2 separate regions of the Homo sapiens genome follow, and region 1 is linked to region 2. The links are contacts of gene promoters, found by promoter capture Hi-C in human tissues and cell types (Jung and others, 2019). All regions are on one chromosome and are shown on one strand. Each heading gives the region's core, a stretch centred on a gene start or on the middle of the fragment in contact. The rest is flanking DNA. Distances are from core to core; before and after follow the strand shown. Region 1 overlaps FNDC3A (fibronectin type III domain containing 3A). Region 2 holds the start of CDADC1 (cytidine and dCMP deaminase domain containing 1).

What was found. Contacts are between HindIII fragments. The study calls those that stand out against the background at their distance.
Region 1: a contact is called between a fragment that was not itself captured here and the fragment with the promoter of CDADC1 in region 2, in 2 of the 25 tissues and cell types used here (mesenchymal stem cells and spleen).

What each region holds. Positions count from the first base shown.
Region 1 is chr13:49,200,798-49,208,111 of GRCh38, forward strand. It overlaps FNDC3A (fibronectin type III domain containing 3A), which reads left to right. Exons shown (of 26, transcript NM_001079673.2): 24 at 1,003-1,169; 25 at 2,360-2,487; 26 at 6,284-7,314. The coding sequence ends at 6,598. Among named protein-coding and RNA genes, the nearest start is that of MLNR, 16 kb to the right of the region's middle. The HindIII fragment of the contact is 3,237 bases long and covers 1,317-4,553 here.
Region 2 is chr13:49,243,246-49,250,195 of GRCh38, forward strand. CDADC1 (cytidine and dCMP deaminase domain containing 1) reads left to right here and starts at 4,680. Exons shown (of 10, transcript NM_030911.4): 1 at 4,680-4,874; 2 at 5,626-5,720. The coding sequence starts at 4,793. It overlaps LOC105370203 (a long non-coding RNA gene), which reads right to left and starts at 4,595. Exons shown (of 2, transcript NR_135318.1): 1 at 4,390-4,595. RefSeq lists enhancers at 4,541-5,103, 4,573-4,802. The HindIII fragment of the contact is 6,098 bases long and covers 1-5,986 here.

The DNA.
Region 1 (7,314 bases), core at 1,685-4,184, 44 kb before region 2:
ATTTAATATCTTTGATTACTTTCATTCCCTTTGATTTTCACAACTATATACACTTGCTGTGGGATGGTATCATAATGATACTTTAGTTGTTCCCTGATCCAGATTTTGTCATTGTTCAGCTTTTTTAAACAGTGGTATTACCACTATTTTTTTTTCCTGTCATTAAAAAAAAATTTAGAGGTTGAAAAGGCAAGGCTTATCCAATTACTGCTTATTGGAAGTACTGTTTCTTCCTGTCATTAAATATTTCTTTATTTTTAACTTGGCTACAATTTTCAGACTGTTAGCATTGAATAAGCATTCATTATTCATTCTCTAATTTCCAAAAATTTTAGAAACATCCAATCAAAAATAATGGGATGCATTCAACTTATAGATAACATATTAGGAGAAATATGTATGATATTCAACTTCATTGAACAGTTCAAGTGGGTAATGTATTGGAAATTTTATATTATCATACTGCTTTTGTAAATCTCTAAAAAAACGTCACCAAGTCAACTAAAAATCTGCCTGGGAATTGAGAATTCTCTTTTTTCCAGATAAAGACAAGGAAGATTAAAATAGAAACTTAATCTCATAGCTCAGGTCTCTATGCCATACTTGGCAAATTTTATCAATATGACTTTAGTTAGAAATAATTTGTAATGAAAATTGTGATGTTCTGAGCATCTTTTAAAATGTACATTAACAAAACAGTATTCAGAAACAAAGCTAAACCGGAAGCCTGAGAAGAAACAGTTATGGTCGGACATGAAATTTAGTAACAGACTTTTGGTAAATCATGTCAAATTGGGAAATTTACCAAATATCCTATTTTTCTTAATCTGATGAAAAACAGATTTATTTTAAGTGACATAGAGTTCCTGGCATCAAACTTTTGGGGTAACTTATCACTCCTAAATAATGTTCATAACTGTGTTTTTATACTAGTTTGTAAAACACTTTAATAAGGTATCATAAGGTAGTATAAGGTTTATCTAATAGTTATTTCCATTTTAGGTTTGTATCCCTATACAGAGGACCATGTCATACATACAAAGTACAAAGACTTAATGAGTCAACATCCTATAAATTCTGTATTCAAGCTTGTAATGAAGCTGGGGAAGGTCCCCTCTCCCAAGAATATATTTTCACTACTCCAAAATCTGTCCCAGCTGCCTTGAAAGGTAAGTTATACATCCTGAACTTATTTTCTTTATAATAAATTACTTTTTAATGTATTTTCATAAATGCTTTGTTTACTGATATTAAAATTTAGCATCCAGTATATGTCCACCAGTTATACAAAATCGTATAGGCAAGCCCAACTCTACTGAGAGTTCCACTCAATAATAAAAGCTGTTTTATCTGGCACGCTCATATTCAGACAAGTACTGGCTTTTGTCACTGATGTTTTTAATAATGTAGCATAAAAATACTAAATTGAATAGGAAGGCTGGTTTTCTAATGAGGTCATTTGCTTAAAGAAAAAAATCACAAACTCTGGTTGTTTAAACGTTTTGAGTTATTGATATTACATTCATTTGGATTTCAGAAGGAAAGCTTGGTCATCTGTTAAGCAAAACAAATTCTTCATTAATGTGGGTTTTTCAATTAGTTTTACACACACATGTACACATATTTACACACATTTGTATATACATTTATCTTTTAATTTTAGAGGGGTTCTTATTTTAAAGTGACTCTGGCAAGGGCTACACTCTATTTTTAGCTGAAAAGTCTATAAAGTTAATTGCTCTGAAGACTAATCACAGAGACTTCTAGAACCATATCCTAGATCATGTACTTAAACCTATCATTTGTTAAACAGCAGAACTCTTCTTGACTAGTCTTTCTAATAATATTGAGTTTCACTGAGTCATTTTTCTGTTTGCTCATCAAGTTTAGTGTCTCTTAGCTTTAAGAAGAGTGCTGACTATAAGCAGGGCACAGTGGCTCACACCTATAAGCCCAGTGCTTTGGGAGACTGAAGTGGGAGGCTCACTTAAGGCCAGGAGTATTGAGACCAACGTGGGCAACATACTGAGACCTGCCTCTCTACAAAAGAAATTTTGAATCAGCTGGGCATGGCAGCATATGCCTGTGTGTGTAGCTGCACAGGAGGCTGAGGCTGCATTGAGCTATGATCGCACCACTGTTGTCCAGGCTGGGTGACAGAGTGAGATCCCATATCTTAGAATACAAGAGTGCTGATTTTAACCTCTTTGGATGCAAATTTCAAAAATTCACTGATACTTATTTCAAGTTTATAAGTGGATTTTAAATATTTGTTGATTTTTATTAAGACAAGTGTCTGCATGATGTACCAAATTAAAAATCAAGTGGAACAGATATTATTTATATTTGTTTCCTACAGCCCCCAAAATAGAGAAAGTAAATGATCACATTTGTGAAATTACATGGGAGTGTTTACAGCCAATGAAAGGTGATCCAGTTATTTACAGTCTTCAAGTTATGTTGGGAAAAGATTCAGAATTCAAACAGGTATGTACCAAGATATTAATGTGTGGATGCATATTTTTACCCTTTTTTAATTTTTATGTATTTTCAGTGTAAGATTTGGCCATCTTTACCTTTTAATTCATAAATATTTATTCAGTATATATTATGTTCCAGAGATCTCAAGATTCCAAATCTTTTCAGTATGAACTACACTTGAACAGATTATTCATTTATCTGATAAGTATTCATTGAATTCTGTGCCAGGCACTCAGGATATAGCACTGAACAAAAAGTCCCTTGCCTCCATGGAGCTTACTTACATTCTGGTGGAAAAGAAGACACTATAAGCAAGTAAACATGACAATATATTGTCAGATATAAGTGTAATGGAGAAAAAACAAAATTGGATAAAAGAAATAGGGAGTGGAGGGGGAGGGCACTGAGTGTTATTTCATTTGGGGCACTCAGCTGACATTTCAGCATGGCCCAGAGGAGATGACTATGGAGAGAAGAGTGTTCCAAGAAGATACGCTGAGGCAGGAACATGCCTATTAAATCTGATGAACATAAAGGAGCCAATATGACTGGATGGAGAGAGCAAAGGGAAGAGTTGATAAGGTCGGATAGTTAATCCTAAGGGGCCTATAGGTGGTATGGAGTGACGTAAGGCATAATAGGCCATACTGTGGCTTTTACTCCACGTGAAATGAGAAGACAGTGGAGGATTTTGACCAGGGTATTCACGTGATCAGACACAACGTTGTTTTGACTATAGTGTTGAAACTACAGTAGGACAAGGGCAGAACTAGAAAGACTAATAAGGAGGCTTTTACAATAATAGTATTAATAATAGTCATAATGCAGTGCTGTAAATATGACATTAGGCATGAAGTTATAATGGAAACCTAGAGGAATTGTCACCTTCCTAGCCAAGAGGTTTCAAAGATAGCTTTCTGATAAAGCAAGAATAGCAGTGAGATAGAGTGGAGTGTTGCCAATGTTTGTTACAACTTTTAAAAAGAATAAGCTTTTATACCACTCCAAAGACTAATTAAATACCTATACATTTCACCTGATTTTCCCTTTTTCCTGTAACCTTAATTTTGAGGGCTTTTAAGCTGGGTTGTTTTCATTGTGTCTTATATTTTCCTCTTCCACTAAAAAAAAGATCCTTCATTTGTTTTATTCCAGTATTGTGCTATTGTAACCACTCTATGTAATATCTTAACTGAAATTACAAAAGATCCAAAGAGTCAGATTAAATCTGGCATGCAATTGTTTTTCTTTATTAAGCCATCTGCAAATTGACAGGATAATTAGATTTGAAATGTAATTTACAGATAAGTAGGTTTCCTTCTAAGGAGGAAGCAAAATTAATATTAAAGAAAATATAATTGTATTACACGTTTAAAGGAAATAGGGATTCCACATTTGAGTAGTATATGAATAACCTTAAGGCTTGTTTGAATGACTTTTCTTGGGTGTATAAACCTTCTGAAATTAGCTTGAGCAGGTTAATCTGTTTTCTTCAGTCCTGTATTTACAGTTACCTGTGTCTCTTCCTGCTTAGAGGTCTTCCCACATCTGAAATACAAAATTGAAAACTTGATCCCATCATCTTCCCTCCCAGTATCTCCTCTCCAACATCTTTACTTCATCAGTGTCATAGACACCAATATCATCTTGGTCTCCAAGCTTTAAATTCTTAGATGAATTTTTTTTTCCTATCAACTCTTAATCAGAATTTGTTTCTAAATCCATAAAACTACATCAGGGCCTCATCACTTTTTACATGTACATCAAGAGTCCCTGTCCTACTCAGCTCCCTTCAGTCCTTCACACAGCCTCACGATTAGGATTCCATAAACACTGTTTTAATGTCACACACCTACAGTGGTCCCTTTTGAATTAACCTAAATTTCCAACTAGTGTAATTAATGTATTCTTCCTCTTTGTACCAGATCTCTTATCACCCTCATGCCATTTGTTGAGGTTTTTCTTTCTTAACCTAATACTGCCAGGCTCATGGAATGGTATATGAAGACACATGGAAAGTATAAAGACAAAAATCATCTATTATATCCATAAGACAAATACATATTTTTAATTTTTACTCAATTTACTTCAGTGTTATGTATACAATTTTACACTACTTTATCATACAACATTCTGTTTTAAGTGAATCCTTTTACAGGTTGAAGCATCCCAAATAAAGTCCAAAATTCAAAATGTTCCACCCAAAATCTGAAACTTTTTGAGGATCGATATGACACTCAAAGGAAATGCTCATTGGAGCATTTCCAATTTCAGATTTTTGGGTTTGGAATGCTCAACTAGTAAATATGCAACTATTCCAAAATCAAAAAAATTGAAATGCTTCTGGTTCCAAGCATTTCTTATAAGGGATACCCAACCTGTACCATCTCCCAAACATGGATCATTTCTACATTCTATTCCCTGAAACATTATGCATCCTTAGAACTAATGTATAGTCACCATTTTCTTTCAGATTTATCTTAAAGCTTCTTTCAGTAAGTTCCTTTATATATTGTTATCAGCATCCACATTTTTATTTATTGCCAATAATTCACTAATTTAATGTCCTTTTATTAAGTACCTACTATATGCTAGATTCTGGAGACAGAAAAATGAGACAGAGATCTTACTTTACTTTGAGAGCAAAGCAATATGTAAAAATTTAGATTTACATCACAGGTACAATTGAGGCAGCTAAAAGTACTTGAAAGCCCCCATGTGTTGGTTCTTCTGACTTGTAGCCCACCAACTAACTGGAGAAACTCAACTGACAAGTCATTTAACCCTATGAACCTTGGTTTTCTCAATTACAGAATGAGTGGTGGGAGGTTGCTCATTATTGGAAATGATAGCTCCTACAGATTGAGCAGTGACTGCATGCTGAGCACTGCGCTAAGTGCTTTAACAAGCATTAGTTCATTTCATCCTCATAATTATCATACATGTTAACTACTAGTATGTCTGTTATACTAAGGTAGTTGGTCTAAAATCACATCTGGAGTGTGAAGTGGTAGAGCAGACCTTGGATGCCAGGGGTGAACAGTTCTAGTATATAGCTTCTTATTTATGCCTAGTGTTCCATTATTGGAACACTAAGCTTGTGGTAGTTATTTATATCTCACTGATCAAGGTTATTGCCAAGGTCTGATTTTTCACAAAAAAAAAATTTGCAACCTCTGGCATAAATGGGTTAATTACTAGCACATTCCTCTGAAAATCCGTGGAATTTCATTCTTTTTATTTCCCTTGTGAGGCATGGCAGAGGAGGTCCTATTTTCTGATTCTAAGTGATCTCCCCTCTCTGGTTTATACAGTGATTTGCCATAGGCACCTATAGAAAGCTCCCCTTATTCATTTTCCATTTCATTGTACAGATATGTTTGAAATTATATGGAAATTTATCAGTTATACAAAGACATAATGGGGGAAGCAAAAGTAGACACTATCCCTTCTTTGATGGAATGATTGCATTGAAAAATGACTTCTTACATTTGAGAAAAGCAAGAAAATGCTTGAGGACCGATTTTGCTTGTTCTCTAGCTGCCCTGGGGCACATCTGCACTCCTTAATTCATCTGTGAACCGTATAAGGGTAGATCCTCGCTTTTGAAATTTCTCTTGCCCCTATGCAACAAACAGATAAGTACTTTAATGGACAGGTATTTTTAACATGTCATTTAAAAGATAAAATCAATGGCATTCACTGGCTTTCACATGAAAAACAATTCTAACACTAGCCAGTTTTAACACATTTTCTGTCCAGCCTTCACACGTAATTCTTCCTTCTAATATTTTATTAACAGATTTACAAGGGTCCCGACTCTTCCTTCCGGTATTCCAGCCTTCAGCTGAACTGTGAATATCGCTTCCGTGTATGTGCCATTCGCCAGTGCCAAGACTCTCTGGGACACCAGGACCTCGTAGGTCCCTACAGCACCACAGTGCTCTTCATCTCTCAGAGGACTGAACCACCAGCCAGCACCAACAGAGACACTGTGGAAAGCACAAGGACCCGACGGGCACTGAGTGACGAGCAGTGTGCTGCCGTCATCCTTGTGCTGTTTGCTTTCTTTTCCATTTTGATTGCCTTTATCATTCAGTACTTTGTAATCAAGTGAAAATATAACTTTATTTTTTAACTCTATTACATTTTATTTTGTCATGTACTAAAATTATTTCTGTATTGCTTTTATAAAAAACAGTGGCATTTAGCACTGGCATTGAGACTATAGCACATCATTTTTGCCATTTTCAGTGCTTATATTGTTAGGTAGAGGCTGGCACTTTATTAGAATGCAAGCCACAAAAATATCAATTTTGTTTTTTTTGTTAGGGTGGGTCTTCTTTTTTTCTTTCCCTCTCTCTTTTTTTAACAAATGCCTTCTTATAGAAAAACTTTCTAAGAGGCAACAATTTAGAATGGATATTTTGACGAATCGGCATGAGTGTAACAGTGATAACCTGATCTGTTTGTTTTAAAGATTATTACCAAGTGAAAAATTCAGAATGAATAGAATTTACACTAACATGCTATATAAAATGTTAAAGTCTGATGCTGTGAAAGCAATCTAGTGCTATATTTCTACCTCCTCATTTGTCTTAATTATTTGGTAAGTGGGATTATGATGAGTAACTGGAGGGGCTTAGAAACAAAAACTGGATGAAAGAGTATGCATGAAGAAAAGCTTCTTTGATAAATGTGGAGTTCTTCATTATAAATATATATTCATGAATTCACAGATAAGTACTTAAAGAACAGACAGTTTACTTGGCCTAAAAATATTTTGATGTTTACTCAAAAAGTACCTCTTCAGGTCTTGAGAACATGGAAAAG
Region 2 (6,950 bases), core at 3,430-5,929:
TGAGTAAATGGGGCACCCCTATTGCGAGTCCTGCAAAGCGGTCAGGGAAATATCCTACTTCAATAAGACTGTTTAAAAATGGATTTGCATCCCTGTTGTTCCTATAGAGATGATCTCTGACGGAATCATAAGGCTTTTGTTTAAGGATTGCTTAAGATGTTCTCAGATCCAAATTTCAGCGACCAGTTTGGAGACCCTCACAGAAGAACGGGATGAGCATAAGAACACAGCTTCTTCATCTCCCTGTCCCATGACTTCACCCTGTGCTCTTCGACCAGTGAACACTCTCCACACTTGGGCCCACTCCAAAACCCTAAAGACTGTAGCCCCAAACTCCTCAGACAGATGGATTTAAGATTCCCTCCCATCTCCTCCTTTGGTGACCCTATAGGTAAATGCTTTATCTGCTAAAACCCAGTGTCTCTGGCACTGGTCATGGAGTGCCTTCTCACAAGAGCAAAATTGAGTGTAAGGTACATTTTCTTCCACAAGCCAGGTATTCCATAAGCACCACCAGCATCAGCAGATCCAGCTACAGATTCAGTGACTATGATCAACTCCACAGACCATCAGCTTGCTTTGTTGAGAGGATTCTGTCCTAATAAACACACTGCTAAGACTAACATTCCCAATCCACAGGACCTAGAATAAAAGAAAATTCAGGCTACTTAGAGAATAGGTAAATGAAAGATGAAAAAGGGAGGGACAATCAACAGTATTGAGCACCTGTGCTTTGCCAAGCACCATACTACTTGGGATCATGTAGCCCTTCATGAAAATTTGTGATAAATGTTTTACCATCATCCTTTCCTTCCTTCTTTCCCTGGGCTATTCCTTCCTCCCTTCCTTCTTCCCTGAGTAAGTCAGTCAAAAAGGCATTTGATAACCTCCCCTCCCCTCCCCTTCAAGGGAGAAGAGGCTATTACAGCAGAGGAAGAGGAAGGGGCTGGAAAGCCAAAGAAGCAACTAGCATGCTAGGAAGGTGAGTCACATACAGGGGAACTGAGGGTGGAAAAAAGAAAGAAAGGACAGAGGCTGCTCCTTTAGCCTGGATCCCAGAGCCAATTCACAGGAGCAGCAGCATGTAACATGAGTAAAAATTAACCTTTGTGGGGGCAAGCCACTGAGATTTCATGGTCATTTGTGTGAAAGGAAAATGAATCTTGGGGCCCCAAAATCACTAAGCTAAAGGGAAAAGTCAAGCTGGGAACTGCTTAGGACAAACCTGACTCCCTTCTATTCAAGTCATCCCTCTGCTCACTGAGATAAATGTATATCTGATTGCCTCCTTTAGAAAGGGTAATCAGAAGCTCAAAAGAATGCTAGCATTTGTTTCTTATCTACCTAAGACCTGGAAGCCCCCTCCCAACTTCGAGATGTCCCACCTTTCCAGACCAAACCAATGTTCATCTTACATATGTTGATGGATGTTTCATATCTCCCTAAAATGTACAAAACCAAGCTGTGCTCTGACCACCTTGGGCACATGTCGTCAAGACCTCCTGAGGCTGTCACAGGCGCATATCCTTAACTTTGGCAAAATAAACTTTCTAAATTAACTGAGACCCGTCTTAGATTTTGGGGGTTCACATTTGTTACCCACAGCAAGCCGGGTCTAAGCCAACTGATACAGTAACTGGTAAATAACTTCTGTTCTTAGAGTGTGAATACAGCTTGTCTCTCTCATATCAAAGCCCATGGTCCTTCCACTTGATATATAGAATTGTTTATTGATTTAAAAACCATTTTATTGATTAAACTGGCCTTTGTAGAACTCAGCTGCTCTGAGCTTGTCCACTTCTCAGCACTTAGGGAAAATTTCATTTTATAATCCTTTTTAGTCCTCTTATTCCTCTGCAGCAGAACAATTATTCCACCAATACTGTGGAAAAGTTAGCCTAGTCTGAAAAATATTTCAGCTACAAATACCTAAAAATGCAGGATAAAATATGGCTGAGCTAGCAAGAAAGTAAGAGAAATAGTCCAAGTATTTAAACTGCTCTGAAATACTAAAGGACTGAAAATGGAATGAGACCAGGAGTCCAAAGAGAGGTTAATGAGCAATAAAGCTAATGATTGTTTGAAGGGCAGGGCAGATCTAGACTGCTGGGGATTAAAGATACACACACAAACACACATATAACATATATAGGTGTGTATGTATATATATATACATATAGTTATTTTGAGAGTTTAAGACTTAAAGAAAGTTGCAAAAATAATACAGAGTTCCTGTGTTACCCTTCACCCAGCTTCTGCAATAATAATGTCTTACCTATTCACAGCACTTTGGTAAAAGCAGGAAACTGATACTGGTAAAATACTGTTAATACAGGTATAGATCTTATTTGTGTTTTACTAGTTTTGAATGTACCACTTTGCATTTTTGGTGTATAGCTCTATGAATTTTATCACATGTATAGATATGAGTAACTGTCAACACAAAGAAACTCTGTCGTGTTACCTCTTAACAGTCAGACCCTTGTCCCAACCATAACATTTGGCAATCATGGATTTGTTCTTCAATGCTATAATTTTTCTTTGGCTATGAGAATGGTATCTAGATGGAATCATACAGTATACAACACTTTAAGACTGGCTTTTAAAAACTCACCACAATGCCCTTGAGATTCATTCAAGTTGTACGTATCAATAGCTCATTACTTTTTATGGCTGAGTAGTGTCCCATGGCATGGATATACTCCAGTTTGCTTTCTATTCATTCACTAAGGACTGTTTGGCTTGTTTACAGTTTTTTTGTTTTTTTGTTTTTGAGATGGAGTCTCACTCTGTCGCCCAGGCTGGAGTGCAGTGGTGCAATCTTGGCTCACTGCAACCTCTGCCTCCCGGGTTCAAGTGATTCTCCTGCCTAAGCCTCCTGAGTAGGTGGGACTACAGGTACATGCCACCACGCCTGGCTAATTTTTTGTATTTTTAGTAGAGACGGGGTTTCGCCATGTTGCCCAGGCTGATCTCAAACTCCTGACCTCATGATCCGCCCGCCTTGGCCTCCCAAAGTGCTGGGATTACAGGTGTGAGCCACCATGCCTGGCCTGTTTTCAGTTTTTGACTATTAAAAATAAAGCCACCATGACATTCATGTACAGAGTTTTGTTTGAACATAAGTTTTGGTTTGTCTAGGATAAATACCCAGGAGTGTGATTGCTGGGTGATATGATAAGCATATGTGCAACTTTATAAGAAACTGTCAAACTGTTTTCTAGAGTGGTTATGCCATTTTATAGTCCTACCAGCAATGTTTGAGAGATCCGGTTGCTCTGCATCCTCACTAGCATTTAGTGCTGTCAGTACTTGTTATTTTAGCCATTTAAATAGGTGTGTAGTAGAATCTCATTGTGGTTTTAATATACATTTCCCTAATGGCCAATGACACTGAACACTGTTTTACATGTTTATTTGCCATCTGTATATCTTCTTTGGTGAAATGACTATTCAAGTCTTTGATCCATTTTCTAACTGGACTGTTTACTTACTCTGAGTTTATATGGTTCTTTATATATTCTGGATATGAGTCCTTTGTTGGATACATGCTTTGCAAATATTTTCTCCTAGTCCATGGCCTGTCTTTAAACCTTAGTGTTAATTGCCATGAAGGCACTGTCAACAAAGTCTACACTTCAGGAAAGGTGCAGAATGGAGTTCTCTGGATATAGTCAAATCACCTGAAGAGCTTTACCCTCAGAACAGGCGAACTAGAAAAAATTCTACAAGCCAAAGAAATAAATAGCAAGCTGAAAGATAGATCTGAAGAAATTAGCCAGAATGTGGCTCAGAGAAACAAAATGATGCAATATTTTAAAAATAATAATTTAGAACCTCAGAAGGTTTAACCTATGCCTAATAGGAATTCCAGGAGGAGAGTCTAGAGTAATGTTGTCCAATACAGTAGTAGCCAATAGCCACATGTCACTACTTAAAATGTAAATTAATTAAAACTAAATGAAGTTAAAAATGCAGTTCCTTGGTTGTACTGGCCACATTTCAGATGCTCAATAGCCACATGTGGCTGGTGGCTACCATATTGGACAGTGCAGATATAGAATACTACAGGAAATCCTACTGGACAGTGCTGATCTAGGTCATAAAACAAGTCTGAACAAATTTCAAAGAACTGGTATGATACAGATGTTTTGTGGAAATAAACTAGACATTAGAAATTAAAAACAAAATAACTCCTACTGCCTCCTCTCACCTTTTTCCCCATTACAATTCCACCTCTTAATGTCTTCATGTTCTTGATGAGAAGCAGAACGTCCCTACTGTGTTCCATGGCACCAAGTTCCCCAGAACCCGCCAGTCTCTGATGACAGAACATCCTGGACCGCCCAGCTCCACACCCCAACCCAAGAAGTTCTCTAAAACACTGACCATGACAGCCTGGGGTAGGTTTCCACTTTAACATTCTGACCAAAATTCTCAACTCGATGCAGTCAGAGTCTGCGCAACCTGGGACCTCGAGCCAAGAAATCCTCAAGTGACCTTACTTGGCAAAACCAACAAAACAACCAAATACAGGTCTCAAGCGATTTACAGCTCGGTGCTTAACTCGGTCACCGGCCGAGGGGCAGCCCTCTGGCGCCAAAGCCCCGCCTCTCTATGACGTCACACGAGGAGCCCTGAAGTGGCGGTCAAGCTTGAGGCGTCATCTGGCTGCGCCTAGTGGGCCGTTGCCTTACAGTTGCTGAGAGGAGGCGAGAGGCGGGGGCGCTAGGGCCGAGATCATGTCTGACTGGGAGAGGTTTCCTTGGCAGCAGAGGACGCTAGGTTTGGGATGAAAGAAGCTGGGCAGATGCAAAATCTGGAGAGCGCGAGGGCCGGGCGGTCAGTCAGCACCCAGACTGGCAGCATGACCGGTGAGTGTCCGGGACCCTGCTCCCGCCACCCTACCTTTCGCTCTGCCCTGTGCGTCTCCCGTCATTGAACTCCAGATTCCTTGTCTGAGCCTCTTTGCCTCCCCTGCTGCTTTTGGATGTCTCCTGCCCGCCCTCTGCGTGTCCCCTCCGCGGTCGCCAGGACCAATCGGCTCGGTCGCACTGGCTTTTGAAGTCTCGCTTTTTACCCCTGTTAGCTACTTCTCACAGGACCTAGAGCTGGGGCCTCTGAGGTCAAAGAGCCTGAACATTTCCAAACGGCGCTTTTGCCTTGATTTCCAAATTAACCGCACGTGACGCTTTCCTGTATTTCGACTGCTTTACCGTCGAAGGTCAGCGCATTTTTCGGGTTGTGTTCTAATCGCTTTCCTTTTAGCAACGCCCCATCACAGTCCAAAGAAAAGCTTGCACCACGACGACGTCAGATGCGAAGACTTTTCACAGCTTGCTTTGGGTTGTCCCCCTCAGCTATGTGTATTAGCTGTACCGTTTTTTCCTGCAGGGTGAGGGCTGGAGAAAGAAGGCTCAACTTTTTAAGTGGAGAAGGAGGTAGCCACGACTAAGGCTGAAGCGTCTACTGCTAAGATACCTCTGACTCTCTTGTCCCCTATCTTTTTCTGTGCCTCTTGCGAAAGCAGCTGGGCTTAGGCTGCAGCACCTAAGTGGCATTGAGATTGGCTCCCTTTTTCACCATTAGTAACAAAGTTTAAAGTGTTTGTCGTCTCTTTTGTAGGTCAGATACCAAGGCTTTCTAAAGTCAACCTTTTCACTCTGCTCAGCCTCTGGATGGAGCTCTTTCCAGCAGAAGCCCAGCGGCAAAAATCTCAGGTATAATTTGTTTCATAGTTTTTCCCCTTAGAAAAGCAGTGGTTTAAAATCTGAGTTTATTGCTCCAGTTTCTGTCATACCTAAAACCAAACTTAACAAGGCTTAAGATTTAAAAAATATCTTTATTGATTAACATGACACTTTATAATTCCCAGCCGTAATAAGTCATCTTCCATTCTAAAAATACTTTCTGAGAATACCATGTTTATCGGGTACTAATGGTATTCATATGTCAGTTCGGCTAATAAGATTATTGTCTATACCACATAATTTCCCCCAATTATATATACTGTTGGTGTTTTATCTAGGTAGTTTACTCCTCTGCCACAGAAATATATAAATTGCCTGGAGATAGAGACCATGTCTTATTTTACCTAGCATATACCCTTTAGAGTCTAGCATTATATGAGTGCTAATTGATTAATGTTGGATGGAAGTAGTCTCTTTTTGGATCTTGAAAGACAGGATCAAAACAGATTAGAAATGGGCTGTGTGCAGTGGCTCACGCCTGTAATCCTAGCACTTTGTGAGGCTGAGGTGGGTGGATCACCTGAGGTCAGGAGTTCAAAACCAGCCTGGGCAACATAGTGAAACCCCATCTCTATTAAACATACAAAAATTAGCCAGGAGTGGTGGTATCCGCCTGTAGTCCCAGTTACGCGGGAGGCTGAGGCATGAGAATCGCTTGAACGAATCGTTGGAGGTTACAGTGAGCTGAGATTGCACCACTGCACTCCAGCCTGGGTGACAGAGCAAGACTCCATCTCAAAAAAAAAATCAGAAATGTATAGTAAGAATAATCATAAAAGCCAATATATTGGAATTGGAAGTATAAACATCCTGCGTCTTTTCTTTCTCCTACCCTTGGGGCAACAAGGGGCTAGGTTCTCATTTTCCTCCATGCTTGGAATGGCATGATGCTAGGTTCTCATCATTTCTGTTTGATAATTTTGGAAGCTTAGGGTGTTGGCATTAATTTTTATAGGGGGCCACGGCCATTGGAAAATAGTATTAGGTTAAGTTGAGCATTTAAGACTTTTTTTAAAACAGAGGTAAAATGAGGGGGGTGGGGCAGAAAATTACACATGGCTTCTCACCACTCTAACAACATTACTGTTAATATTTTGGTGCTTCCAATCTTAAGCATGAGGTTTTTTATTTTTACTCTTACAAAGTTGTAGTTATATTCTGCATGTACTCGCTGAGGTTTCCAACTTGCCCATAATTCTG